Regions from separate parts of the Homo sapiens genome. Here all the other regions are linked to region 2. Evidence: promoter capture Hi-C in human tissues and cell types (Jung and others, 2019). All regions are on one chromosome and are shown on one strand. Each heading gives the region's core, a stretch centred on a gene start or on the middle of the fragment in contact. The rest is flanking DNA. Distances are from core to core; before and after follow the strand shown.

Region 1 (6,370 bases), core at 1,321-3,820, 250 kb after region 2:
GTGACATGCTGGCTTTGTCTTCTCCCTAACTCCTGGATTACTACAAATTTCTTCTTCGTGCAGGAATCATTCCCTCACTCTATACATATCTGCTGTTAAAAAAAAAAAAGTTAAGATATTATAGCCATTATATTGTAGCAGCCATGATATTATAGCTCAGTAAATGCTGCTTTCCAAATATTGGCTAATTTAACCATAGCATGTCTTCAATGTTAGAAGCCAGCCCTCATTTTTATCAAGGGCTGAAGTTTGATAATTCTTTGTGTTATTTGCTTGTGAAAATAAGTAGAACAAAAAGGATTAGGGACCTAACCTTGTATCCCATGTATCCCAGTGAACCTTTTCTGACTTAAAGCTTCCTTTCTTTTTTTTTGGAGATGGGAGTCTTGCTCTGTCGCGAGGCTAGAGTGCAGTGGCGCGATCTTGGCTCACTGCAGCCTCCGCCTCCTGGGTTCAAGTGATTCTCCTGCCTCAGCCTCCCAAGTAATTGGGACTACAGGCTCATGCCACCATGCCCAGCTAATTTTTTTTTTAATTTTTAGTAGAGACGGGGCTTCACCATGTTGGCCAGTATGGTCTCGATCTCTTGACCTCGTGATCCATCCACCTTGGCCTCCCAAAAAGCTTCCATTCTTAGTCTTGGTACTTCTAAGTGGCATTGGGTCAATAGCTTTCTGCCTAAGAAGAGAATTGGCTGGGCATGATGGCTAACACCTGTAATTCCAGCCCTTTGGGAGGCTGTGGCAGGAGGATCATTTGAGCCCAGGAGTTCAAGACCAGCCGGGGCATCATAGGAAGACCCCATGTCTGCATAAAATAAAATAAATTAGCCAGACTTGGTGACATGCACGTATTGTCCCAGCTTGTCAGGAAGCTGAGGTGGGATGATTGCTTGAGCTCAGGAGATCAAGGCTACAATGAGCTATGATCATACAACACCAGTGCACTCTAGCCTGAGTGACAGAGCAAGACCCTGTCTCAAAAAAAGCAGGGGGGCATAGTCACCTCCCTAAAATATTAGTTGAACAGTATGTATTCAGAAGTCCAGAGGCTCTGTATTTTATTAATATTTTCAAGGCACTATTTCTGCAGAAATCAAGTCAGCAAGACTCTTTGAGGACGTTACAGGCAGAGGGGCTAAAGATACCTTTGAGGAAGCTCAAGTACTTGGGTGGGAGGTGATAGATAAAGGGTCAGTAGAAATAATGTCTCTTTTTATTTTTTTTCCCATTAAAAAATTTTGTTTTAATAGCAATGGAGATGGGGTCTCACTGTGTTCCCTGAGCTGGTCTGGTCTCGAGCTCCTGGGTTCAAGCAGTTCTCCCACCTTGACCTTCTAAAGTGTAGGGATTATAGACATGAGCCACCATGCGTGGCAAATTTCTTTTCTTTCCTTTTTTTTTTTTTTTTTTTGAGACAGAGTTTTGCTCTTGTTGCCCAGGCTGGAGTGTGGTGGCACGATCTTGGTTCACTGCACCCTCCACCTCCCAGGTTCAGGTGATTCTCTTGCCTCAGCCTCCTGAGTAGCTGGGATTACAGGCGCCCGCCACCATGCCCGGGTAATTTTTGTATTTTTAGTAGAGATGGGATTTCACCATGTTGGCCAGGCTGGTCTTGAACTCCTGACCTCAGGTGATCCACCCGCCTCAGCCTCCCAAAGTGCTGGGATTACAGGTGTGAGCCACCGCTGCCGGTTCCAATGTCTCTTTTGGATGGTGGATCCTGAAGAATAGCTGCTGGTTCTTTGGGGATGCCTGGGGAATACTGTGCAGGCTTTGTGATGGGCTCAGCAGTGAGGCCTGTACAGTATCTTAGGTCTTGTGGGCCTCAGTCTGCTCTCTTGGCTGTTCTCTACCACCTCCTGCCATTAAGTTTTTAAGAAAAAGGAATAGTTTTATTATATTCTTTGGTAAACAAAGCAAATTAAGAAGCTTTATATTTTCCACATTTATTTACCAAACTCCCTATTTGTTTTTCTCTATAGTGATTCAGTTTAGAGACCTATTCAATGAAGCATGCCTTGATGTTGAATTTAGAGTCTACTTTTTCCAGAAGAAAAGAGCCAGGGAGCTCCAATAGTAGTCATCTCAGAATATAAAAGTGTTATAGAAATGATGTAAATCAGGCCGGGTACAGGGGCTCACGCCTGTAATCCCAGCACTTTGGGAGGCCGAGGCGGGCGGATCATGAGGTCCGGAGATCGAGAACATCCTGGCTAACAGGGTGAAACCCCGTCTCTACTAAAAATACAAAAAAAATCAGCCAGGTGTGGTGGCCGGCACCTGTAGTCCCAACTACTCAGGAGGCTGAGACAGGAGAATGGCGTGAACCCAGGAGGAAGAGCTTGCAGTGAGCCGAGATCGCGCCACTGCACTCCAGCCTAGGCAACAGAGCAAGACTCCGTCCCCAAAAAAAGAAGAAAAAGAAGAAAAGAAATGATGTAAATCAGCTGCCCTTCACTCTGTGTTGAGGTGGGGGATGTCCCTAATTGCAGTAGGAGAGAGCCTCTCTTTTATCTGGGACTAAAAGCCCTTGCCCTACATACCTCATAATTATTTTAGGGTTAACTGATTCAATTGTCAGAAAAGAACAAGCTGTATCTTGTTTCTGTACATATTCTACTTTGTGAGTATTTTTATTTCATTGCTATGTGATTGGAATCAACTCAGGAAAGAGGAAAAAAATAAGATAGAGGTTATAGAATTCTGAATTCTGAAGGGAATTCTGAGAATTATCAGTAAAATATGTCAAAATGTGATATTTTACTTCCACCAAGAATTAGGCCATATCTTTGTGTGAAAATAAATTATTATTATTTATTTATTTATTTTGAGATGGAGTCTCGCTCTTTTCACCCAGGCTGGAGTGCAATCACACAATCTCGGCTCGCTGCAACCTCCACCTCCCAGGTTCAAGCGATGCTCCTGCCTCAGCCTCCCGAGTAGCTGGGATTAGAAGCGCCCATTACCACACCCAGCTAATTTTGTACTTGTAGTAGAGACAGGGTTTCACCATGTTGGCCAGGCTGGTCTCGAACTCCTGACCTCAGGTGATCCACCCCCCCCCCCCCCACCCTTGGTCTCCCAAAGTGCTGGGATTACAGGCATGGGCCACCGCACCCAGCATACGGAAATAAATTATTAACCAGAGAAATTTTGACTAAGGTTTTTATAAATGTTAGGTGAACCATTGCTCTAAAAGATACAAAATTATAACAAGCTGAAAAGTTTTTTAAAAATCTGCATTTTAGTGGTTCAGTTTTTCAGTTGTTCTGAGTGCTAATAGTTGGAGTTTATAAATTGTAAGAAGCAATCTACGGAGATTCTGTGATGAAGGAATTTGTTGAATGCCCTGTCTGCCTCACAGTCTCAGTCTTTATGATAGAGTCTTGTCTTCTCACAAGGAGAGAAAAGATTTGAGGCTCTTTTGATTACTTACTTACTTGCTTATTTATATATTTTGCCTCTTTGTTTTTGCCGCAAATACAAATGTAATGGAACCTTAGAATAGGAGAGACGTGTGGATCCCCTGGTAGGCACTGTTCTTTCTATGTTCCTGGAGCCAAGTTCATGGAATTACCTCCAAGACTACGGATCCCTGGTTTTCTTTCATCATGATAGGAGGCATTTTCTAGAACCTGAATCTTACTTTAAAATGCATGTAAGACCTGCAAGGAGTGGTAGTGAAGTGGGTGGAATATATTCTTAGCACCAGACACCTTTAAAATATTTAAGTTCTCGGCCGGGTGCCCTGGCTCACGCCTGTAATCCCAACACTTTGGGAGGCCGAGGTGGGCAGCTCACGAGGTCAGGAGACCGAGACCATCCTGGCTAACACGGTGAAACCCCATCTCTACTAAAAATACAAAAAATTAGCCAGGCGTGGTGATGGGTGCCTGTAGTCCCAGCTACTCGGGAGGCTGAGGCAGGAAAATTGCATGAACCCGGGAGGCAGAGCTTGCAGTGAGCTGAGATCGCACCACTGCACTCCAGCCTGGGTGACAGAGCAAGGCTCCTTCTCAAAAAAAAAAAAAAAAAAAAAAAAAAATATATATATATATATATATATACACACACACACACACACACACACGTGTGTATATATATACACACACACATGCATATATATATACACACACATGTATATCTATAGATATATACATATATATGTGTATATTTACATTTTCTTATGTCAGGGTCTGGCTTGGAGTGTATTGTGTTCCCAGAGCAGAATTCTTTTTTTTTTTTTTGAGATTGGGTCTTACTTTGTCACCCAGGCTGGAATGCAATGGCGTGAGCTTGGCTCACTGCAGCCTCGACCTCACAGGTTCAAGCAACCCTCCCACCTCAGCCCCTGGAGTAGTTAGGATAACAGGCGCACACTACCATTTTGTATTTTTTGTAGAGGCGGGGTTTTATCACATTGCCCAGGCTGGTCTCGAACTCCTGAGCTCAAGCAATCCACCTGCCTTGACCTCCCCAAATGCTGGGGTTACAGGCGTGAGCCACTGTGCCCAGCCGCAGAGTTCATCTTGAGACCCTGACTTCTGCCAGCTCTGATCCTAGTGGGTGGGGCTCTGGGGCTCAGTGAAACAGTCAGCCGTTTTGCTTCAGAGAACACAAATAAGATTTTGGCTTGATGCTGGTTGTTGCTGGCGTCATATAGTCTAAAACGTTTGCTGTCAAGAACATTTTAGTAAAAGTTTTTGTTGTGCTTTCATCTAGTCAAGAAAAGATAGGAAGTGGCAGCTGACAGGGCAGTGTCTTCATGCCCCTCAACCTTACATTGGACACTGAAGTAGGATTGTGTTTTCACTGGAAGTCCCAGTGGGGCCTTATCTCCTGGATGCTCAAAGTGCAGCTCAGATCCTGTTGGGTAAAAAGTCTAGTCAAAATGGAGGACATGGAGAAGGCCAACAGGCAGAGCTATAGAGCTGACATAGGGCATTCTTTGTACTTCCCTTAGCCACTGTACTTTCTTTCTTCCTCCATCTCCTCCTTCCCTCTTCTATCTCATTTTGGTTTGGCCTTTGGGAATAGTGGGTTTTAAAAAATATTTGAACTATAACATATCCTTGTACCATAAAGAATGAGCCTGACTGCTTTACAAAGGATTTCTATAAAAAGTAATCTTTTATACTAAGAGAAATGACACATCTGTTTTAAACCTGTTACTTTTCTTCCCCGGGCTTTGCTCTTTCTGCAGGTCCGTTTGACATGGTTCTTGAAACTCCTGGTAGCAGCCATTTACTAGTAGCACTCTTTATCTTAGACACAGCACCTAAAGCAATTGTAGGTGTTTTAAGAACAGAAAGCCCATCTTAAGCAGACCAGTTTGAGGGATTGGCAGTGCTGTCAAGAAACAAGGGCTTTGTGGCAGTCTCTCTAAAAACTCCCTATGAGTCCATTTCTTGCAAACTTCTTTAGACTCTACTGTATCTTTTCATCAGAAGCTACCTCTTTGATGTGGGAAGTGTCATGAATGGACTGACTCTCTGGAATTTAAAAACAAAGACAATATGGCAAAAAGAAAACCTGACTTTTAGTACTGTATGTGTTGCTAATTAGCTCTGTATTCTTGGGCAGACTACTCCATGTATCCCAGCCATCCATATGCCCTATTTGTAAGGATCTAATGAGATGATATTGTGAAGAATGCCTTTGTAAACTGTAAATTGCTTTGTGAATAAAGATACTATCTCTGATAAACAGTACCAGTTCTCAGCCACCAATAACCTGATACTCCCATACTGTGTTTGGAAGAAACACAAAACAATGAAGAGTAATTGTGACTTTTCAATGTGAGTTGTATTCACAAAGCTCATATACTTTTTCCCTGCCTTTTGATACTGTTTATCGCTTTCTGTGTTGTAATGGGAAGATCACACAGCAATCATTTTCTCAGTACAAAGTATAACTACAACTGAGCTTGCATTGAAGATCTTTAACAAAGATGCAAAGCTGCTGTCCAGAAATGTTTTCTTTCCATTTTCTCTTGTACCTCCCAGTATTTTAAGAATCCTTGAGGCTGGGCACCATAACTCACGCCTGTAATCTCAACACTTTGGGAAGCTGAGGCAGGAGGATCACTTGGGCCCAGGAGTTTGAGACCAGCCTGGGCAACATAGTGAGACCCCCATCTCTACAAAAAAATTTAAAAATTAGCTGGGCATGGTGGTGTGCACCTGTGGTCTCAGCTACTTAGGGAGGCTGAGGTAGGAGGATTGCTTGAGCCTGGGAGGTCAAGGCTGCAGTCAGTCATGATTGCACCACTGTGCTCTATCTAGCCTCCAACCTGGGCAACAGAAGCGAGACCCTGTCTTTTTTTTAAAAAAAAAAGACTATCCTTGATGATTGGTTTTGAGCCAACG
Region 2 (6,757 bases), core at 1,837-4,336:
TAATCCCAGCACTTTGGGAGGCCGAGGTAGACGGATCATGAGGTCAGGAGATCGAGACCATCCTGGCTAACACGGTGAAACCCCGTCTCTCCTAAAAATACAAAAAAATTGGCCGGGCATGGTGGCAGGTGCCTATAGTCCCAGCTATTTGGGAAGCTGAGGCAGGAGAATGGCGTGAACCCAGGAGGTGGAGCTTGCAGTAAGCCAAGACCATGCCACTGCACTCCAGCCAGCGCAACCGAGCGAGATTCCGTCTCAAAAAAAAAAAAAAAGAAAGAAAGAAAAGCTAATATTTTAATATCCCCCTCCTTTCAAGAACTGCCCAAGGAACTGGTCTTACCAAGATTATAATGAACTAAAGATTCAAAAAATGGCCCTGAAGGACAATGAAATAAATAACTAAAGACTACTCAACTTCTCCCTTGCCTCACAAGTGCAGTATAAACTCAGTCGAACAGCAACAAGCTGCCAGCGTCCTCTGGGTTCAGCACCTGCTTTCCTAAAGGATCTCCTGACCAAGGAGCTGGTTTCTTTCAAAATTATTATTTTATTTATTATTTATTTATTTATTTATTTTTGGAGACTGAGTCTCACTCTGTCACCCAGGCTGGAGTGCAGTGGCGCGATCTCAGCTCACTGCAACCTCCGCTTTCCGGGTTCAGGTGATTCTCCTGCCTCAGCCTCCATGCACCACCACGCCCAGCTAATTTTTGTATTTTTAGTAGACATGGGATTTTGCCATTTTGGATAGGCTAATCTCTTAACTACTGACCTCAGGTGATCCGCCCGCCTCAGCCTCCCAAAGTGCTGGGATTACAGACATGAGCTACCGCACCTGGCCTCTTTCAAAATTATACATTCAGAGGTGACAAGATCCTGATAGAAGTGCACAAAGTAGGCTAGGCGCGTGACCAGGCACAGTGGCTCACGCCTGTAATCCCAGCACTTTGGGAGGCCAAGGCAGGCGGATCAGGAGGTCAGGAGTTCGAGATCAGCCTGAACAACATGGTGAAACCAGGTCTCTACTAAAAATACAGAAATTAGCCGGGCATGGTGGCACGCACCTGTAATCCCAGCTACTTGGGAGGCTGGGGCAGGAGACTTGCTTGAACCCAGGAGGCAGAGGTTGCAGTCAGCTGAGATTGTGCCATTGCACTCCAGCCTGGGTGAGAGAACGAGACTTCGTCTCAGAAAAAAAAAAAAAAAGTAGGCTTGGCGCGGTGGCTCATGCCTGTAATCCCAACAATTTGGGAGGCGGAGGCGGGTTGATCATGAGGTCAGGAGTTCGAGACCAGTCTGGCCAACATAGTGAAACCCCGTCTCTACTAAAAATACAAAAATTAGCCAGGTGTGGTGGCACGTGCCTGTAGTCCCAGCTACTCGGGAGGCTGAGGCAGGAAAATTGCTTGAACCAGGGAGTCAGAGGTTGCAGTGAGCCGAGATGGCACCACTGTACTCCAGCCTGGCAACGGAGCAAGACTCCATCTCAAAAAAACAAAACAAAACAAAACAAAACAAAAAGTGCACAAAGTATTGTCGCTTGACTTCTTAGTCATCTCATGCAGGCATATTCTATGACCACATACAAGAAGACTGTACAAAGAACCAAAGAGGCCACAGGTCAAGAGAAATGTGTTTTGGAGCAATGAGAACTCTTCCTAGACCTGCACACTCTACTGAGGATCTCCAACTTGCCCAAATTCACAGGAAAGGGGCTTGAAGGTGTTTTCACTGAGCAAGATAATTTTAGTACTGTTAAAAGTTAATTTGCGCCGGGCATAGTGGCTCACACTTGTAACCCCAGCACTTTGGGAGGCCAAGGGGGGTGGATCACGAGGTCAGGAGTTCGAGACCAGCCTGGCCAACATGGTGAAACCCCGTCTCTATTAAAAATACAAAAATTAGCCGGGCATGGTGGCGCGTGTCTGTAGTCCTACCTACTCGGGAGGCTGAGGCAGGATAATCGCTTGAACCCGGGAGGTGGAGGCTGTGGTGAGCCGAGATCGCGCCACTGCACTCCGGCCTGGGCAACAGAGCGAGAGACTCTGTCTCAAAAGAAAAAAAAGAAAAAAAACAGTTAATTTGCCAGTTCCATATCATCCACAACAAAAACAAGTTTCTTTTTCCGATTCTAAGACACTCCTACGTTTCCTTTGTCTCCTATGGCGAGCATCCCTTTAGGAGATAAAATCAAGTCATCACCATAATACTCACTTTCTCCTAAAGCAAAAAGAGGAAGACATTACCACTCTCCAAAAAGTGGTGGTGAAGAACCAAAGAAATTATGTTCCAAAATAAAACTCAGCCATTATGGACATTTAACCAGGTTCTTTGCGAGGAAAACGGTGAGCTTCGAGGTACACGTGAGGTTCCGAACGGGTCTCAGGAAGCAGCAGCCAGGCAGAGGGTCCCCCTTGCCATAATCATAGGGCCGTGACACCGGCCTGCCTGGCTCGCGGGGGCTTTGGCTTGCTTCGTCTAGTCTTAGCATCCAGCGTCCTGAAAATCACTCGCAGGAACGCTATCTAAGAAAGAGGTAAGTCTATTTCTCAGCCAGGAGCAACATAACTCCCAGGAGAGCATCAGGGTGGCACCGGACACACTTTAGCGCTCCGGATCAGCGGAGTCCAGAGCTTCGGTCAGAGAAGCTGGTTTCCCGCTACTAGCCGGCCAACCCTCAGGCACTGGCGCTCTCCGTCCTCCACACCGGCTGTCCCCCCGGCTTCGGTGCCAGCATCTGGGAGGCTCGGCGGGCGGCCGGTCAGGACGCTCGAGCGATGTTCCAGTGATGGCCCCACCGGAGCCCCGACCCCACACGCGCCCACTCCAACCCCGCGCCCGCCACCGCCCTCCCCGCGGGCGTCAGGCCGGTCTATCGGCCCGGCTCCTGTCACTCACCTGCCCGGCCCGGGCACCGAGCGCCCACGGCTCCCTACGGGAGCTGGGCCCCCCGGGCCTCCAGGTTTCGGCCCGCCCCCTGGCAGGCAGCACAGGTGGCTGAGCACCGCTACAGCGGCCTCTCACCGGCCGCTTGGTCCAGCTCCCGGCGCTGCCCACTGGGTACGGATCAACAACAAGATGGCGGCTAGCCGAGGGGGCGGGGGCCGGGCGTCATAGTAACCAGGACTGCAAAGAACCCGCCCCCGAGGGGGTGCTATCCCCAATCAACAGTCTTTTTGCTCGTCGCCAGGGGAAGTGCTTCCTGCTGACAGGTCAGCTCACGTGTCAGTCAGAGTCTGCCTCTCAGGGCCTCTGCCGAAAGCGTGGGGCACGTGACTGTGACGGCATGGGTTGGCGCATGCGCTTCGTTCCCGGAGTGGCTGGCGGCGGAGTTTTCGCTGGCTACTACGAGGCCGGAGCGCCCTTGGCCTCTCTGCGTCCCTGGCCCTCGTGCGGTACCGGCGGCGTCTTGTCATACACTTGCGCACACACAGGGAATCTCAGCGGTGTGCTATTCGTTTTTTTGTCCCCCACTCTGGGAGAAGGGGGGTGCAGCCCCCAGTTCACTCTGGAGAGGAAACTGAGGCTCAGAGAGGGGAGGCCGAGCCAAGGTCACGCCACCTCTAGAAATGGAGGTGCTGGGTCTCGCACCTCCTCCTGCTGGTTTCAGAGTGTGAGGAGCCTCTATCCCAGCTTCCCACGCTTTGTCCCTTACTAGCCTCGAGGTACCGCAGTCTGTGCTGCCACAGCAGCCTCTGGCTCATTGCCCATGCTTTCCTGCCTGAGGTTTAGAGCCTAGCACAAGTCCTGACACACAGCGGGCACTCCCTTTTCTCTTCCCTAGAGCATCTTGTCTTGAGATCCTGTGACAGCATCTTTTGCCCTGGACTGTCATGACCGGCCTCCCAAGCAGACTAATGGTCCCAGGAAGATGGTCACACCTTGCTCCCCATACAGAACACCTAACTCTGGGCTTGGCTTCAGGCTTAGAACAACAGATGAAGTTACGTGGCCTGGGCCCACACCCAAATGCCCCAACTAGCTAACTCTGACTTTTGAGCCTTAGCCTCTCTTTAGCTTTGGTTGTCCCATCTGTAAAATGAAGATAAAAGTGGAGCTTCTCAGAGGAAGATTTAATGAGCCCTCAGAGCAGGGGAAGAACTCAGGAAAAATCTGCCTACAACCACTTCCTGGAACAACCTGCTTCCAAGTTGCTGTTCCTGAGGCGTGCCTTAAAACACTAACTTTGGTGGAAGCCCCATGAAGCGTTTTTGTTTTGCTTTGTTTTGTTCCCACAGAAGGCTTTCAGCTTCTTCCTGGCCCTGGGATACCATAACTGGTTCAGAAGGGGAGGTCCTCCTAGCTAGGCGCAGTGGCTCATGCCTGTAATCCAGCACTTTGGGAGGCCAAAGAAGGTGGATCACTTGAGGTCAGAGGTTCGAGACCAGCCTGGCCAAAATGGTGAAACCCTGTCCCTACTAAAAATACAAAAATTAGCTGGACGTGATGGCAGGTGCCTGTAATCCCAGCTACTCAGGAGGTTGAGGCAGGAGGATCACTTGAACCTGGGAGGCAGAGGTTCAGTGAGCTGAGATCACGCCACCACACTCTAGCCTGGGTGACAGAGCAAAATTCTGTCTCAAAAAAAAAAAAGGGAGGTTCTCCAGTACCCTGAGGGGGTTCAGGCCCACAGACTCAACAGACGAGTAAAGACTGTGATAACTTGGATTTACCACAGTAAGGTCCTCTTGGAGAGCTGGCAGAAGCCTGAGACCTGATGTCAGGTTGGGCATGGAGAGTGGGCCAACACTGCATCCAGCAAGACCTGCCCACCAGCAGATTGCTGCAGGCCACTTGGCTACATGCAATAGCTCAGGTCAACACAGGGAGATGTGAGAGCAGAGGAACCAGAAGAAACAGATCAGGAAGAAAAGCCAACAACCCTCAAAAGGGGGATTCTGCTAATCCTCCAGGACCAGCCATGCCACAGGATTCTCAAGTCTGCATCACCCCTCACCGCAGTGCAAAAGCTCCAGATCCTTCCCAAGAAAACCTCCACATACAGTTGGCAAATTGCCCTGAAGTTTGATGGGACCCTCAAAAAGCAACAGTGGTATAACTACTGTGGATAACAGTTCGGAGGTTCCTCAGAAAACTAAAAATACAGCTACCACATGATCCAGCAATCCCACTGCTGGGTATGTACCCAAAGGAAAGGAAATCAGTATATCAAAAAGATATCTGCACTTCCATGTTTGCTGCAGTGCCATTCACAATAGCCAAGATTTGGAAGCAACCTAAGTGTCCATCAACAGGTGAATGGATAAAGAAAATATGGTACATATGGGCCGGGTGCGGTGGCTCACGCCTGTAATCCCAGCACTTTGGGAGGCCGAGGCGGGCGGATCATGAGGTCAGGAGATGGAGACCATCCTGGCTAACACGGTGAAACCCCATCTCTACTAAAAATACAAAAAATTAGCCGGGCGTGGTGGCAAGCGCCTGTAGTCCCAGCTACTCAGGAGGCTGAGGCAGGAGAATGGCGTGAACCCAGAAGGCGGAACTTGCAGTGAGCCGAGATCACGCCACTGTGCTCCAGCCTGGGCAACAGAGCGAGACTCCATCTCAAAAAAAAAAAAAAGAAAAGAAAATATGGTACATATGCAGAATGGAATATTATTCAGCCATTAAAAAGAATGAGATTGTGAGATTGGCTGGTGCGGAGGCTCATGCCTGTAATCCCAGCACTTTGGGAGGCTGAGGCAGGAGGATCACCTGAGGTCAGGAGTTCAAGACCAGCCTGGCCAACATAGGAAAACTCCATCTCTACTAAAAATAAAAAATAAAAAAATTAGCCGGCATGGTGGTGCACACCTGTGGTCCCAGCTACTCAGGAGACTGAGGCACGAGAATTGCTTGATCATGAGAGGCGGAGGTTGCAGTGAGCCAAGATCGTGCCACTGTACTCCAGCCTGGGTGACAAAGTAAGACTACATCTCAAAAAAAAAAAAAAGGAAAAAGATTTAAACAAAACAATTGAATTCATGGAGATAGTGAGTAGAAGGATAGTTACCAGAGTCTGGAAGGGGTGGGGAGGTGGGACGGTTAATGGGTACCAAAAAAAAAGAAAAATGAATAAGACCTAGTGTTTGATAGCACAACAGAGTGACTGTAGTCAATAATAACTTAATTGTACAGTTTAAAATAACTGAAAGAGTATAATTGGATTATTTGTAACACAAAGGATAAATGCTTTAGGGGATGGATGCCCCATTTTCGATGAGGTGATTATTAACCATTACATGCCTTATTAAAACATCTCATGTACCTCCAAATTTATACACCTATGTACCCACAAAAATTAAAAATTAAGAAAAAAATTAAAAAGAGAAACATCTCAACAACAACAACAACAAAAGCAACAGTGAGCTAGGCACGGTGGCTCACACCTATAATCCCAGCACTTTGGGAGGCTGAAGGGGGAGGATGGCTTGGACCCAGGAATTCAAGACCAGCCTGGTCAACATAGAGAGATCCCATCTCTACAAAAAAATTAAAAATTAGCCAGGCATGGTGGTCCATGCCTGTAGTCCCACCTACTTGGGATTCTGAGTAGGAGGATCGATTGAGCCTGGGAGGTCAAGGCTACAGTGAGCCACAATCACACCGTTGCACTCCAGCCTGGGCAACAAAGCCAGACAGCCAGACCCTATCTTTCTCTCTCTCTCTCTCTCTCTCTCTCTCTCTCTCTCTCTCTCTCTCTCTCTCTCTCTCCCCCTCTCTCCCTCTCCCCGCCCCCTCTCTCCTTCACACACAT
Region 3 (6,864 bases), core at 3,798-6,297, 220 kb after region 2:
AAAAAAATGCATTAACACTGCAACAATAAAAAATAATACAGGCCAGGAGTGGTGGCTTACTCTGTAATCCCAACATTTTGGGAGGCCCGGGTGGGAGGATTGCTTGAGGCCAGGAGTTTGAGACCAGCCTGGGCAACACAGGGAGACCCCATCTCTACAAAAAATAAAAGTGAAAAAATTAGCCAAGTGTGGTGGCTATCAACTTGGGAGGCTAAGATGAGAGGATTACTTGAGTCTGGATTGAGACTGCAGTGAGCTGTGATCACTCTGCTGCACTCTAGCCTGGGGTGACAGAGTGAGACCCCGTCTCAAAAAACAAAAAAGTACAGTTAACTATTTATATAGTCTTTATTAGGTATTAGATATAAGTAATCTAGAGATGGTTTAAAGTATGTTGGAGGATGTGTGTAGGTTGTATGCAAATACCATGTGATTTTATATAAGGGACTTGAGCATCCTGAGATTTTTGTGTCCTTGTGGGTCCTGGAACCAATCCCCTGTGGACACCAAGGGACAACTGTACTAACCATGTGTCAGAAACTGCTACATGCCAATTTTGGAGAGAAGAAAAAAGCTTCCAATCTGTGTGCTTTCGGTGGATCCTATTCTGACAGTCTGTCCAATTTTGAGAACACTCATTAATTCATAAGCAGTGAATGTGATTAAGTCGTTCGCCTCTGTGCTAAATACTCAATGTAATAGCTGATAGCTGAGTGCTATAAAGAAAATGAAGCAGGGTATTGGGAGAATGCATCATGGTGGCAATTTTAGAGGGGTGGTCAGGGAAACTTCTTGAGGAGTGACATACATTTAAGTTGTGACTCTTGGCGAATAATGTATCCAGAACACTTACTATAGTACCTAGCACTTGGTAGCATTTGAATTAATTTGAAATTCAGTGTCCTTCTTTCTCTCTCTTACCCTCCTCCACATGTCAAGTAATTTCCAATTATAAATTTTGTGTGTGTGTGTGAGACGGAGTCCAGCCAGGCTGGAGTGCAGTGGCGTAATCTTGGCTCACTGCAACCTCCGCCACCCGGGTTCCAGAGATCCTCCTGTCTCAGCCTCCCAGGTAGCTGGGACTACAGATATGCGCCACCATGCTTGGGTAAATTTTTTTTCTTTTTTTTTTTTTTTGAGATGGAGTCTCGCTCTGTTGCCCAGGCTGGAGTGCGGTGGCACGATCTCAGCTCATTGCAACCTCTACCTCCTGGGTTCAAGTGATTCTCCTGCCTCAGCCTCCCAAATAGCTGGGATTACAGGTGCCCGCCACCACACCTGGCTAATTTTTGTATTTTTAGTAGAGATGGGGTTTCACCATGTTTGCCAGGCTGGTCTGGAACTCCTGACCTCAGGTGATCCGACTGCCTTGGCCTCCCAAAGTGCTGGGACTGCAGGCGTGAGCCACCATGTCCTGCCAATTTTTGTATTATTAGTAGAGATGGGGTTTCACTATGTTGGCCAGGCTGGTCTTGAACTGCAGACCTTAGGTGATCTGCCCACCTTGGCCTCCCAAAGTGCTGGGATGACACGCACGAGTCACCGTGCCTGGCCTTCAATTATAATTATAAGAAAATAAATTTATTTTTATATCTGAAGTTTAATAAAACTAATTCTTTAAGGAAATGGATGTGGATTAAACTCCTTATGACATAGTAAACAATCTTATGAGAGACATAAGAATGTGAGGGAAGAAGTCCTGTCTCCTCAGGGTGAATAAAGTAAATATTTTGGGAGGCTGAGGCGAGCGGATCATGAGGTCAGGAGAGCAAGACCATCCTGACCAACAAGGTGAAACCCCGTCTCTACTAAAATACAAAAAAATTAGCCAGGTGTGGTGGCGCACGCCTGTAGTCCCAGCTACTTGGGAGGCTGGGGCAGGATAATTGCTTGAACCCAGGAGGTGGAGGTTGCAGTGAGCCAAGATTGCACCACTGCACTCCAGCCTGCTGACAGAGCAAGACTCTGTCTCAAGAAAACAATAAAATTGAATAAATAAATAAATAAATAAAATAAATATTTGTGGAAGATAAAATGTGTTTGTAGGCCGGGCACTATGGCTCAAGCTTATAATCCCACCACTTTGGGAGACCAAGGCTGGAGGATCACTTGAGCCCAGGAGTTTGAAATGAGCATGGGGTAAATAGTGAGACCCTGTCTAAATTTAAAAAAAAAAAAAAAAAAAAAAAAGTCTTTGTCTATCCTTTCCCCCAGTTTTACTTACAGACCAAATTGGTATGGATTCTGAGTCACCACGATCTGCTTGGCAACTCTTAGTAGAGCCTGAGTGTGTGTGTGCCTCTGAGAAGGTTACTCCGAAGTACTTTGAGTTTTTTTGTAACTCTTTGCTATTCCGACTCTTGATGTGAAATGTCTTTTATTTATCATTGGCTGGTACTTGTAGGCCTAGGGGATGGAAATAAAGGAATTTTCTGCTAGCTTGCTTTGTCAAATATTGTTGGGTATGTGTGCCTTCGTGAAGTTGCTCAAGATGATAACCAAGGTCCCTCTAGCCTTTTCCTGGTGCCTAGATCAAGCTGTTAAACAGTAGGATGCTCTGCAGCAGTACTGAGCTTTGTGGCTGTGGTGACCGATCAGGGTATCACTTAGGCAGCAGCTGTCTATCTGGAGAAATAATTTCCAACAGGTATGAAGGTATGAATCTGTTAGTCTGTACCATCACCATTTCTGTCTAGGAGAAGGGGGCAGCCAGCAAGCACTGTCAGGCAGAGCCTTTCGTTCCACCCTTCCTGCAAAGTGTATTTCTAGCCCTGTCATATGCCCTTGGCTTTCTTTGTTGTCAAGTCTCTGGGAGATTGAGGGTACATATTATTTCCTTCTGCTTTGTGTGCCCTTGCACTGGGACTTGGGGAGGGGAGTAAGAAGTATTGTGTTAAAATGTTAATCCCTTTCATTGGTTGCCCAGTTGTGAGTACTAGCCCTCTCAGACTGTTGGCATTTGGTATGCAGGGATTAGCATTTTATGTTCTCAAGTATGCTGGTGTGATGCTTATTGTCTATTATTTGGCCAAATTAGTCACTAAAGTGCCCTTATAGAAGATAACTCTGGGAGAGGTATTTATTTCTCTGAAATTTTTATTCTCCTTTCCCCTTTCCTTTCCTTTCCTTTTTCTTTTTCTTTTTTTCTTTCCTTTTTCTCCCCTCCCCCCCCTCCCCTCTCCTCTTATTGGAGACAAGGTCTCCCTCTGTCACCTACGCTGGAGTGTAGTGGTACAATCATGGCTCACTGCGGCCTCGATCTCTTGTGCCGAAGTGATCCTCCCAACTCAGTTCTCTTTAGTAGCTGGAACTACCACCACCACAGCTGGCTATTTTTTTTTTTTTTTTTTTGTAGAGGCAGGGTTTTGCAACATTCCCCAGGCTGGTCTTGAACTCCTGGACTCAAGCAATTTACCTATCTCGGCCTCCCAAAGCACTGGGATTCCAGGTGTGAGCCACTATGCCTGGCCTATTTTTAAATTTTTATTTTTTTGAGACTTAGGGTTCTGTTCTGTTGCTCAGGCTGGAGTACAGTGGTACGATGAGAGCTCATTGCAGCTTTGAACTCCTGGGCTTAAGCAATCCTCTCACCTCAGCCTTCTGAGTAGCTGGACTACAGGCACCTGCCACCATGTTCGGCTAATTAAAAAAATAACAAACTCTGTTCGTAAAGATGGGGTCTTGCTGTGTTGCTCAGGCTGCTCTTGAACTCCTTGCCTCAAGTGAGCCTCCCACCTGGACCTGCCAAATTGCTGGGATTATAAGCATGAGCCACTGCGCCCAGCCTTACTCACCTTTTTGTATGACACTATCAGTCTTTCTAAAGTGCAAAGAAAAAGGGTTCTGTTATCATCTGATGTGAAAATTCCTTTAAACATTGACTTTTTCTGGTGTGAGGAATGAAAGCTGTGGAATACGTGAAGTTTTATGAAATAGTGTTTTTTTGTGTGTGTGTCAACAAAATTAAGAGAGTTTGGGTTATTGAAGATACAAGAGTGTTTTTGAAGGTATATATAGGAAACCAAATCTCAAATGTGGTCTGTCCTTGTGATTAAAATTAGAGCAATAGGGAAGCCAGGTGTGATGGCTCACACCTGTAATTCCAGCACTTTTGCAGGCTGTGACAGGAGGATCACTTGAGCCCAGGAGTTGAGTCCAGCCTGGGTAACATAGCAAGACCTCATCTCTACAAAACATTGTTAAAAATTAGCTGGGTGTAGTGGCACATGCCTATTGTCCCAGCTATTTGGAAGGCTAAAGTGGGAGGATTGCTTGAGCCTGGGAGGTCAAAGCTACAGTGAGCCGTGATTGTGCCACTGCACTGCAACCTGGGCGACAGAGAGATCCTGCCTCAAAAAAAAAAAAAAAAGCAACAGAGAAAGCTTATGTTTTTAGTGATGAGAATGCTATTTGTGAGGCCATGATGGAAAAAATTGAAGAACCTAGTTTGTTGGAAACTTAAATTGGTAGTAAAGACATAATACTATCTGAAACACTTTAGTACTTAAATTGTGTGCATTCCAAGCAACAAAACCAATAATCTGTAGGTTGAAGGTTGTAGTGTTACCTAAACAACTATCACCCCAAAAACACTTCATTGAGGAGTATCCAGCATCCTAGCCAGAGCTCAACTGTATAACTTATGGCTGGAATCATGCCATTCTTGCTGGAAACTTCAATTTCAGTACTTTTTCCTTATCACCCTCAGAAGGGTAGTAGTAGAAACATGGGGAACTGCATTCTAAAATGAGTGTATAGGTTCATAACCTAGCTAGAAAAAAAAATTAAAACAATTAATGAGTACAAACCAAGGGTTATTGAAGAGTCTCGCTCTCAAGAGAGTTGGGGTATTCAAGAAAATTGAAAGTGAGTTTAAGGATCGATGACTTGATTACACATTTTGGCTATTTATCCACTGATTGAGACTTTTTTTTTTGAGATGGAGTCTCACTGGTTCGCCCAGGCTGTAGCGCAGGGGTGCGATTTATCCACTGATTGAGACTTTTTTTTTTTTTTTTTTCAGATGGAGTCTCGCTGTGTCGCCCAGGCTGTAGCACAGAGGTGCTCACTGCAACCTCCGCCTCCTGGGTTCAAGTGATTCTCCTGCCTTAGCCTCCCGAGTAACTGGGATTACAAGCATGTGCCACCACGCCTGGCTAATTTTTGTATTTTCAGTAGAAATGGGGTTTCACCATGTTGGCCAGGCTGGTCTTGAACTCCTCACCTCAGGTGATCCGCCCGCCTCGGCCTCCCAGAGTGCTGGGATTACACATGTGAGCCACTGTGCCCAGCCCAGTGATTGAGACTCGACTGGACATGAAGCAGTATAATGTAGCAGTATAACATAGTATTCTGGAAGCAGACTACCGGGGGTTGCATTTCGGCTCCATCACTTTCTAAGGTGTACTTGAACAAGTGGCTTAACCTCTCTGTGTTTTAACGTACTCTCACACACATCTAGGGATTAAATAAGTTAATGCATGTAAGGTGATTAGAACTGGGGCTGGTGGCCGGGTGCGGTGGCTCATGCCTGTAATCCTAGCAAGTTGGGAGGCCAAGACGGGCGGATCACGAGGTCAGGAGATGGAGACCATCCTGGCTAACATGGTGAAACCCCGTCTCTACTAAAAATACAAAAAAATTAGCTGGGCGTGGTGGCGGGCGCCTGTAGTCCCAGCTACTTGGGAGGCTGAGGCAGGAGAATGGCGTGAACTGGGAGGCGGAGCTTGCAGTGAGCCGAGATCGCACCACTGCACTCCAGCCTGGGCGACAGAGTGAGACTCCATCTCAAAAAAAAAAAAAAAGAACTGGGGCTGGCACAAAGTGAATGTTGAGTGCATCTTTGTTGTTTTCACACAACTTCTCATCTGAAACAAAGTCTTAAGTTACAGCAGCTCTGGTCTTGGCTTAATGGAGTATATGGCAAAAAGAGGATTTGGTGGCAGTGCCTAGGAGGATTTTTTTTTTTCCCATCAACAATACTTCTCATTTAGCCTGTTGATTGATACGGATTATCAGGGGACTCCTTCCAGCTTCCCTAGTTGGAGTTTTTTTTTTTTTTTTTCCTTTTTTGAGACAGGGTCTCATTCTGTCTCCTAGGCTGGAGTGCAGTGGTGCGATCTCGGCTCACTGCAACCTCCGTTTTTGGGGCTCAAGCCACTCTCATGCCTCAGCCTCCCAAGTAGCTGTGGCTACAGACACGTGCCTGGCTAATTTTGTATTTTTGTAGAGACGGGGTTTTGCCATATTGCCCAGGCTGATCTCGAACTCCTGAGGTCAAAGCGATCTGCCTACCTCAGCCTCCCAAAGTGCTGGATTACAGGAGTGAGCTACCATGTCCGGCCCTTAGTAGGAGTTTCTGCTGCCTTAGCCTTCAAGAGAGAATCTTAAATTTTCTTTTTTTTTTTTGAGACAGAGTCTGGCTCTGTCGCCCAGGTTGGAGTGCGGTGGCGTGATCTCGGCTCACTGCATGCTCCGCCTCCCGGGTTCACACCATTCTCTCGCCTCAGCCTCCTGAGTAGCTGGGACTACAGGCGCCTGCCACCACACCCGGCTAATTTTTTTGTATTTTTAGTAGAGACGGGGTTTCACCATGTTAGCCAGGATGGTCTCGATCTCCTGACCTCGTGATCCACCCGCCTCGGCCTCCCAAAGTGCTGGGATTACAGGCGTGAGCCACCTCTCCCGGCCATAAGAATCTTAAATTTTCTAAAGAGAAAGAGCAGGAGACAGACAGTACCACATGGAGTATGTTTAGGCCATGTAGGAAATCTAGCCTGTGGCTTTAAAACCGTAAGTTCTAAATTAGCTGGGTATGGTGGTGCACACCTGTAGTCCTAGCTACTCTGGAGGCTGAGGTAGGAG
Region 4 (6,939 bases), core at 2,618-5,117, 230 kb before region 2:
AATGTGCTTCTGGGCATTCAGGAAAGAGCATTAGCACAAAGACATATTTGCTTTCAGTAAGATTTTGAATTTCGGGGCAGTCAGAAACCTCATAGAGGTGGGTAGAAGGCCAGGTAAAAGGGAGATGATTCTGGGGGAGTTAAATGCTATTGCCATATTACCTTGTCATCCCAGGCTGAATTAGTCTTTTCATCCTCATACTGAGCTGAGTTGGACTCTGTGAGGGGGTGGCTCCAGCATTTGCTGCTGAAGAGCCTGACTTGAATCCCATGAGTAGCAGTGCTGCCACACCCATAGTGGTGCCTCTTAGCCCGTCGGGATGATGTGGAGCTTTGGGCATTGGAGAGTCCCTCAAGGAAGGGCTCTCTGCTTCTGGTGTCAGGGTGGCCATGTACAATTATATAATCTGTGCCTTTTCCAAGGAGTGCTGGTTTGGGAGAAAGCTGAACTCTAACCCAGGCTCCACTCTCCAAGCTGTGTGCCCTGGTGTAGGCTGCATCCTCTTAGATGAAGGGGCATCATTCACTCGTTAATTCATTTACTTATTTATGGAGATATGCCTAATGTACAGTGGAACACACATATTGATGGGATTTTATTTATACATACACTCGTGACACACTACCAGATCAAGACAGAACTTTATCAGTACCCCAGAAAGTACTTTTTAAAATAATTACACGAAGGAGCCATGTAGACCAGTGGCAGCCTGTCTAGTTTACACCAGCTCTGTGGACTTGCACCTGTCAGTTTTTTTTTTTTTTTTTTTTGAGTTGGAGTCTCGCTCTGTCGCCCAGGCTGGAGTGCAGTGGCACGATCTCCGCTCACTGCAAGCTCCACCTTCTGGGTTCACGCCATTCTCCTGCCTCAGCCTCCCGAGTAGCTGGGACTGCAGGCGCCCACCACCGCACCCAGCTAATTTTTTGTACTTTTAGTAGAGATGGGATTTCACCGTGGTCTCGATCTCCTAACCTTGTGATCTACCTGCCTCGGCCTCCCAAAGTGCTGGGATTACAGGCGGGAGCCACTGCACCCGGCCCAACTTGCACATGTTTTGATGTTTGCAAATTGATATCTAGTCGATCAGCTAAGGTGTATTTGTCAGCTGTCAAGAGCAAGCACAGTTATTGGCTTTGTGGATGGTATGGAAAGGATATATAGTGCTTCCCTGTCCTTCAGCACCTCACAGACTGGTTGGTCAGATAGCTCTTGAAGAGCCAAATCATGGAAGAACCCTAAGAGAGACACTGTGGGCAGCTCAGTATCTGAGAAATGTCAAATAAGCAGTGCTTACAGGGTTGTTAATTGGGAAGAGTGGAGAGGCACAGCTAAGCTTTAGGAGAGGTAGAGATGTAAGGCTGGAAAAATGACTGGGTTAAGAGAGGTAGAGATAGAGATAAATGGCATAAAGAATGTGGTCTACACAGGCAGGGACAGTGAGCAGAGAATGAGGCTGAGTGCAGGGTGGTGGGGGAAAGCCAGGGCAAAGCCAACAGAGGCCCTTCTCCATCATTGCCCATCAGAATGCGTAATCAATGCCAAAGTCGCCTCTCTTCACTCCTGGCCCATATGTTATTGAGACAGACACCCTAAGCCAAAGGCAGCTAGGCACAGAGAACCTGGTTGTTTACTGGAAGGTGGGCAAGGCTGCTCTGAGAACCATACCCCGAATTCCTTTTTCAAAATGGATTTGTCAGGCATAGTATCTCTGGTCTGGGATTAGTCAGACTTGTTACATTATATCAGCCAACTCAGCCTCTAGAAAAATCTGGCACTAACTTGTAAAGATAAAATGAAAGGACATAATTGCCAGGTCTGGAAATAATGCTCCTTTGTCACTTAGAGATCTTCTTTGTCCCCAGTGGCTGGATCTCACAGAGGGTATGTCATGGAGTGTGAATTAAAGTGACCTTACATCTGAATGGTGACGATGTCAAAATTTTACCCAGAGGGCAACCATTTTTGCATTTCTCCAGGGAAAGCAGGCTACTTTTGATAATACAGTTGCTCACAGCATCATTAAGACTAATAAGGTGCTGTTGATTTAAAAAATGTAAAAATGTAATGGAGACATTAGGAGGAGAAATACTGTCTTTTGTTTGTTTGTTTTTTGTTTTTTGAGACAGAGTCTTGCTCTGTCGCCCAGGCTGGAGTGCAGTGGCGCGATCTCGGGTCACTGCAACCTCTGCCTCCCGGGTTCAAGCGATTCTCCTGCCTCAGCCTCCTGAGTAGCTGGTATTACAGGCACCCACCACCAGACCCAGCTAATTTTTGTATTTTTAGTAGAGACGGGGTTTCACCATGTTGGCCAGGCTGGTCTCAAACTCCTGAGCTCAGGTGATCTGCCCGCCTCAGCCTCCCAAAGTGCTGGGATTACAGGCATGAGCCACTGTGCCTGGCCGAGAAATGCTATCTTAAACATTTTTTTTTTACTATGGAAAATTTCAAACATACATGAAAGTAGAGGAAATGGTCTAATGAACTTTTGTGTTCCCATTGCTTAGCCACTGCCATCATCAACTTATGGCCAATTGAGTTTAATTTATCTCTCTCACATCCTACCCCCTAGAGAAGCAAATTCCAGACATCCCAAAATTTCATCATCAGTATTTCAGTTTGTATTTCCAAGAAATAAGGGCTTTGCATGAACATAACCACAGCACCACAGCCACATCTAAATAAGATAATGATCTCTTCTTAAACTCAGCAAATATTCAGTCAGGATTCTACTTTTCTGATTGTCTTATGAATTTACTTTTATTATTGGTTTGAATTGTGATCTAAACAGGGTCTACACATTGAATTTGTCTGATGCATCTGTCTAGTTTCTTTATGTATTTTCTCTCCTTTTTGCTCCTTGCAGTTTATTATTAGAGAACTATGACATTTGTCCTGTGGTTTCTCATATTCAGGATTATGCTGATTGCATCCCTGTGGTGTCATTTAAGATGTTCCTCTGTCCCATGTTTTTCTTGTAAACTGAGAATTCTGTCTAGAAGCTAATCAGATTCAAATTTTATTCTTTTGGTCAAGAAATTCTAGCTTTTTAAAAAAGAGTTTATTGAAGGCTTCAGACATGGAGAGGCTGAGAGTTCACTGAAAGCAGAACCAGGGTTTGGGCTAATTGGGAGCCAAAGAACAATGCAGTGGACCACTTTTCTGTTCCTTTTCTAAAGATCTCCTTCCTCTGAGTCAGTTTGGTTCTGAGTTTAAGAAGTCAAAGCTTTCAGAGGAAAGTTGTTTTTTTTTTCCCCCAGAAAAGTCATGCCTTTCACCCCAGTGTGGGGGAGCCCTCCCTGCATATGTGAGTAGGAAGCCTCCTACTCACATTTGGGGGCTTAATAAATCTTTCCCCTTATCACAGGTCCTGCATTTCTGAATTGGGCCCTTTCCTCTTGTTAGTTGTGGGGGTGTGGAAGGCCAGACCTACTATGTGTGGGCTATGTGAGGGGAACCTGTTGCTGGAGCCTGTGGGCCATGTGCAGTAAGTTGGGGCTAACTGTGAAGGTAGGTTGGCAACACTGTAATAGCAGTTATGACTACCATTACTGAATGACTGCCTCATCACAGACATTCTGCTAGGTGTTTTATTTCTTATTCCACCTGCTTGGCCATTCAGCTTCTGCAGGCCCTGCCTGTCCTGACTTTACTTACTGCCTGGGGACTGACTTTTTAAATGGTAAAATGGTGGCTAAGCCCTGCATGCCTACAGCAAGGGCTGACTGTCACTTTAGGACATGAGGCCCTCTGGGTAAGCTGGGACTTGGTGAACAATCTAGCTGTGGGGGACTCCTGCTCAGTCCTTTCATTTGGTGCCAGGAGCATGTCATGCTGGTATTGATCCTGCATTTGTAGCACTTGCCCGAGCTCCTTTTCTGGAGGGACCTCTGCCATCTCCTCTCACTAGCACAGTGGTTGAAGCTGTGGAGTGAATTGGGACACTGGCCTGTGGGCTCCTGCCTGTGGTAGGGGTGATAGAATTTTGGTGTCTCACTCTCTGTGGTTCCTTCTGTACAGATCGGGCTTCTAGTGGGGGTCTGTTGCCCCCTAGCATTCTCTTGGCCCATTTGTCTTATATTTTAGGTTCTGGTCAGCTCTGCTGTGGAATGGGATACTCCCTGACACATCTGTGTTGTGCCTTGGGCTCCCAGGCTGGCCACAGGGCTGCTGTGATCTCTCCTTCCTATTATTCGTCTTTACGGGCACATAGGGTTCTAAAGAGAGCTTTGCTCTAGCAGAGACCTGGGGCCCCTACTTCTTTCTAACAAGAGGGTCACATGGAGGCACATGGGAAGCCTCCAGGGAGCTCTAGATCACCCCAGGATCAGATCAAATCTTGAATGGCCTGGAGAGGCCTGGTTGCCCCTAAAGTGGGTGAGGCTGCTGTCAGGGCCAACGGTGAAGAAGAGATTTTCCCTGAGGGGAAATAGAAGGGATGGCTTTTGGATCTTGGTCCCAAACACTGAGGAGATCCAAGAGCCTCAGCAGCAAGGATCACCCCACCCAGTCCTATCTGGGACTAACCCCTGTATCCAGAGGAGCCCGAGCTCTTCAATGCCACTGGCTTGTGTGGGGAGCCAAACCTCCCAAAGATGCTGGAAGAACCATTAAGGCATTTGGGTTCTTGGGAGAAAGGGTAGGTGAGGAAATTTCCTAATAGTTACACTGTTACATTTGTGTTTGCAGGCAGGTAACAAGGGTCACTCCCATTAAAAAAATTTTTTTAATTAATTATTTAAATTGACAAAAATTATGCACTATATATTTATTATATACAACCTGATGTTTTGAAATATGTACATATTATGACATATTATGGAATGGCTAAGTCAAGTGAATTAACATAGTCATGACTTAACATACTTACCATTTTTGTGGTGAGGATGCTTAAAATCTATTAGCAGAAATTTACAAGAATGCAATACATTGGTGTTAGCTATAGTCACCGTGTTGTACAGTAGATCTCTTGTTGTTGTTATTTTTTCTTTTCTTTTTTTTTTGAGACAAAGTCTCACTCTGTCGCCCAGGCTGGAGTGCAGTGGCGTGATCTCAGCTCACTGCAACCTCTGCCTCTTGGGATCAAGTGATTCTCATGTCTCAGCCTCCCGAGTAGCTGGGATTACAAGTGTGTGCCACCATGCCCGTCTAATTTTTGCATCTTTAGTAGAGACTGGGTTTCACCATGTTAGCCAGGCTGGTCTTGAACTCCTGGCCTCAAGTGATCCATCTGCCTCAGCCTCCCAAAGTGCTGAGATTGCAGGTGTGAGCCAGCCACCATGCCCAGCCTAGATCTCTTGAATTTATTCCTCCTATCTAACTGAAACATCTCCTCAACCTTCCCTTCTACCTCCTACTGTGTCACCTACACTTTTTTGTGTATGGGAGTGTTTGTGGGGATTTTTACAGTTAGATTCTACATAGAAATGGAACAATTTTAAAGTGAAATTTTATCCATGTATTCAGGAAACTCTGCTGAACATCTTTTGGATACCTATCCCTGGGTGAAGTGTGAGGAATAAAAGAAGGAGCATAAAATAGGCTCTGCCCTAAAGGGGCCCATGGTGTGGGGAGAGAGAACTCTTGTCCAGATCTTTAGCCTCAACTTCTTCTTCCTTAAATTAGAGTTTGCTCCTGCCTTCTCTTTGTCTCACAGAGGTAAGAGAAATGAGAGTATGATTAAAAGGGGTTGCATTATTTCATGTTCTAAAATAGTAGAGCATATATTTGTATGGTATTTTACAGCTTACAAAACACATTCATAACATTCACGTATTCTGTTGGGAAGCTCCAAAGGCCTAAGAGGAGTGATGTAGAAGAACAGCCAGCTAGCAGACTTTAGCAAACCAAAATGCCGAATGCTGTGGAGAACTGTGTCACTTCCCCGCCTCCTCCTCTGTGAAGATGGGAGATTTAGCAAGATGATGGGAAAGGCTTTGAGGAGTGGGAAAGGGTCAGAAAGTAGGACATTTGAGCAAAGGGCAGGGTAGGATGATGTGGAGGAAGAAGAATAGTGGAAGCATGCTGGCTGGGGGTCAGAAATTCAGGTTTTAATCAATCCTGGCATTGCCTAAACTTGGCTATGCACGTTGGGTATGTCCTTGGTTTTTTCATCTGTAAAATGAGAGATTTAACTAGATGATCTCCACAGTCCCTTCCAGCTCTGACAGCTGATTTCTGTGAAATGTGTAAAAAGGAAGGGTGATGCTTCCCATTTTTCTTCAGCTCTATTGAGCATAGAAAACAAGGTCTAAATCAAAAGTACATTGTGCACTTTTTAGTTTACTTTGTAGCAGCTCTAAATGAAGAGGCTTGCTCTTCCATTGTGTGGCAGAGATTTTTCAGAATGGACAAGATGACTGCACATTCAAGCCTGGAGCCAGGGGCGGGGCTGGCTGGCAACCCACCTCTGGGTTGCTTCTGGTAGGCAGGGGCTCTCGGAAAACTGATGGCCTCCTTGTGCTGGGTTGGTTGGCCAGCCAGCAAGGCTCCTACCCAGACCTGCAGAGCCTGCTGCAGGCTCCCTGTTCTCAGCTGTGCTCGGCTGCTTATCTCCTGAGTGTTGTTCCACCTACTTCCTACAGGTGCTCTGGCAGCAGCCAGTGGGCCATGATTTCCAGGGGAGCTGGGGTTGGCAAACGCTTTGTGATGGGGAAGGGTGGGGCATGGGAAGGGCTAGCCTGAAAGAGACTTTAGATCTTCAGACTCCAGTTTGGGCAGACTCCTTCATTTGTAGAATGAAGAGATACATGTGGTTCTCTCTGCAGCTTCTGCAGCTGTGTGGGTTCTGTGGGCTCAGGCCAGATCTCCTCCAATGTCAAAGTCCGGTATGTGAGGCTGCTTCCTTCCGAAGTGTGGTTTGGCTTCAGTAGGTTATATGTTTGCTCTGATATCCTTTTATTTTGAGCATTGTATCCAACCCCCAACAAATGCCAGAATGTC

What was found. Contacts are between HindIII fragments. The study calls those that stand out against the background at their distance.
Region 1: a contact is called between a fragment that was not itself captured here and the fragment with the promoter of IP6K1 in region 2, in 2 of the 25 tissues and cell types used here (IMR-90 fibroblasts and lymphoblastoid cells).
Region 3: a fragment that was not itself captured here is called in contact with the fragment with the promoter of IP6K1 in region 2 in 1 of the 25 tissues and cell types used here (lymphoblastoid cells).
Region 4: a fragment that was not itself captured here is called in contact with the fragment with the promoter of IP6K1 in region 2 in 2 of the 25 tissues and cell types used here (dorsolateral prefrontal cortex and thymus).

What each region holds. Positions count from the first base shown.
Region 1 is chr3:50,036,426-50,042,795 of GRCh38, forward strand. All of the region lies in intron 6 of RBM6 (RNA binding motif protein 6), which reads left to right. Among named protein-coding and RNA genes, the nearest start is that of RBM5, 49 kb to the right of the region's middle. The HindIII fragment of the contact is 5,977 bases long and covers 1-5,559 here.
Region 2 is chr3:49,783,456-49,790,212 of GRCh38, forward strand. It overlaps IP6K1 (inositol hexakisphosphate kinase 1), which reads right to left and starts at 3,087. Exons shown (of 6, transcript NM_153273.4): 1 at 2,899-3,087. RefSeq lists silencers at 2,701-3,050, 3,786-3,950, 4,731-4,940 and enhancers at 2,765-3,454, 3,541-3,610. The HindIII fragment of the contact is 27,523 bases long and covers 1-6,757 here.
Region 3 is chr3:50,001,143-50,008,006 of GRCh38, forward strand. All of the region lies in intron 6 of RBM6 (RNA binding motif protein 6), which reads left to right. Among named protein-coding and RNA genes, the nearest start is that of RBM6, 64 kb to the left of the region's middle. The HindIII fragment of the contact is 3,646 bases long and covers 3,225-6,864 here.
Region 4 is chr3:49,556,826-49,563,764 of GRCh38, forward strand. All of the region lies in intron 1 of BSN (bassoon presynaptic cytomatrix protein), which reads left to right. Among named protein-coding and RNA genes, the nearest start is that of BSN, 5.8 kb to the left of the region's middle. The HindIII fragment of the contact is 7,034 bases long and covers 351-6,939 here.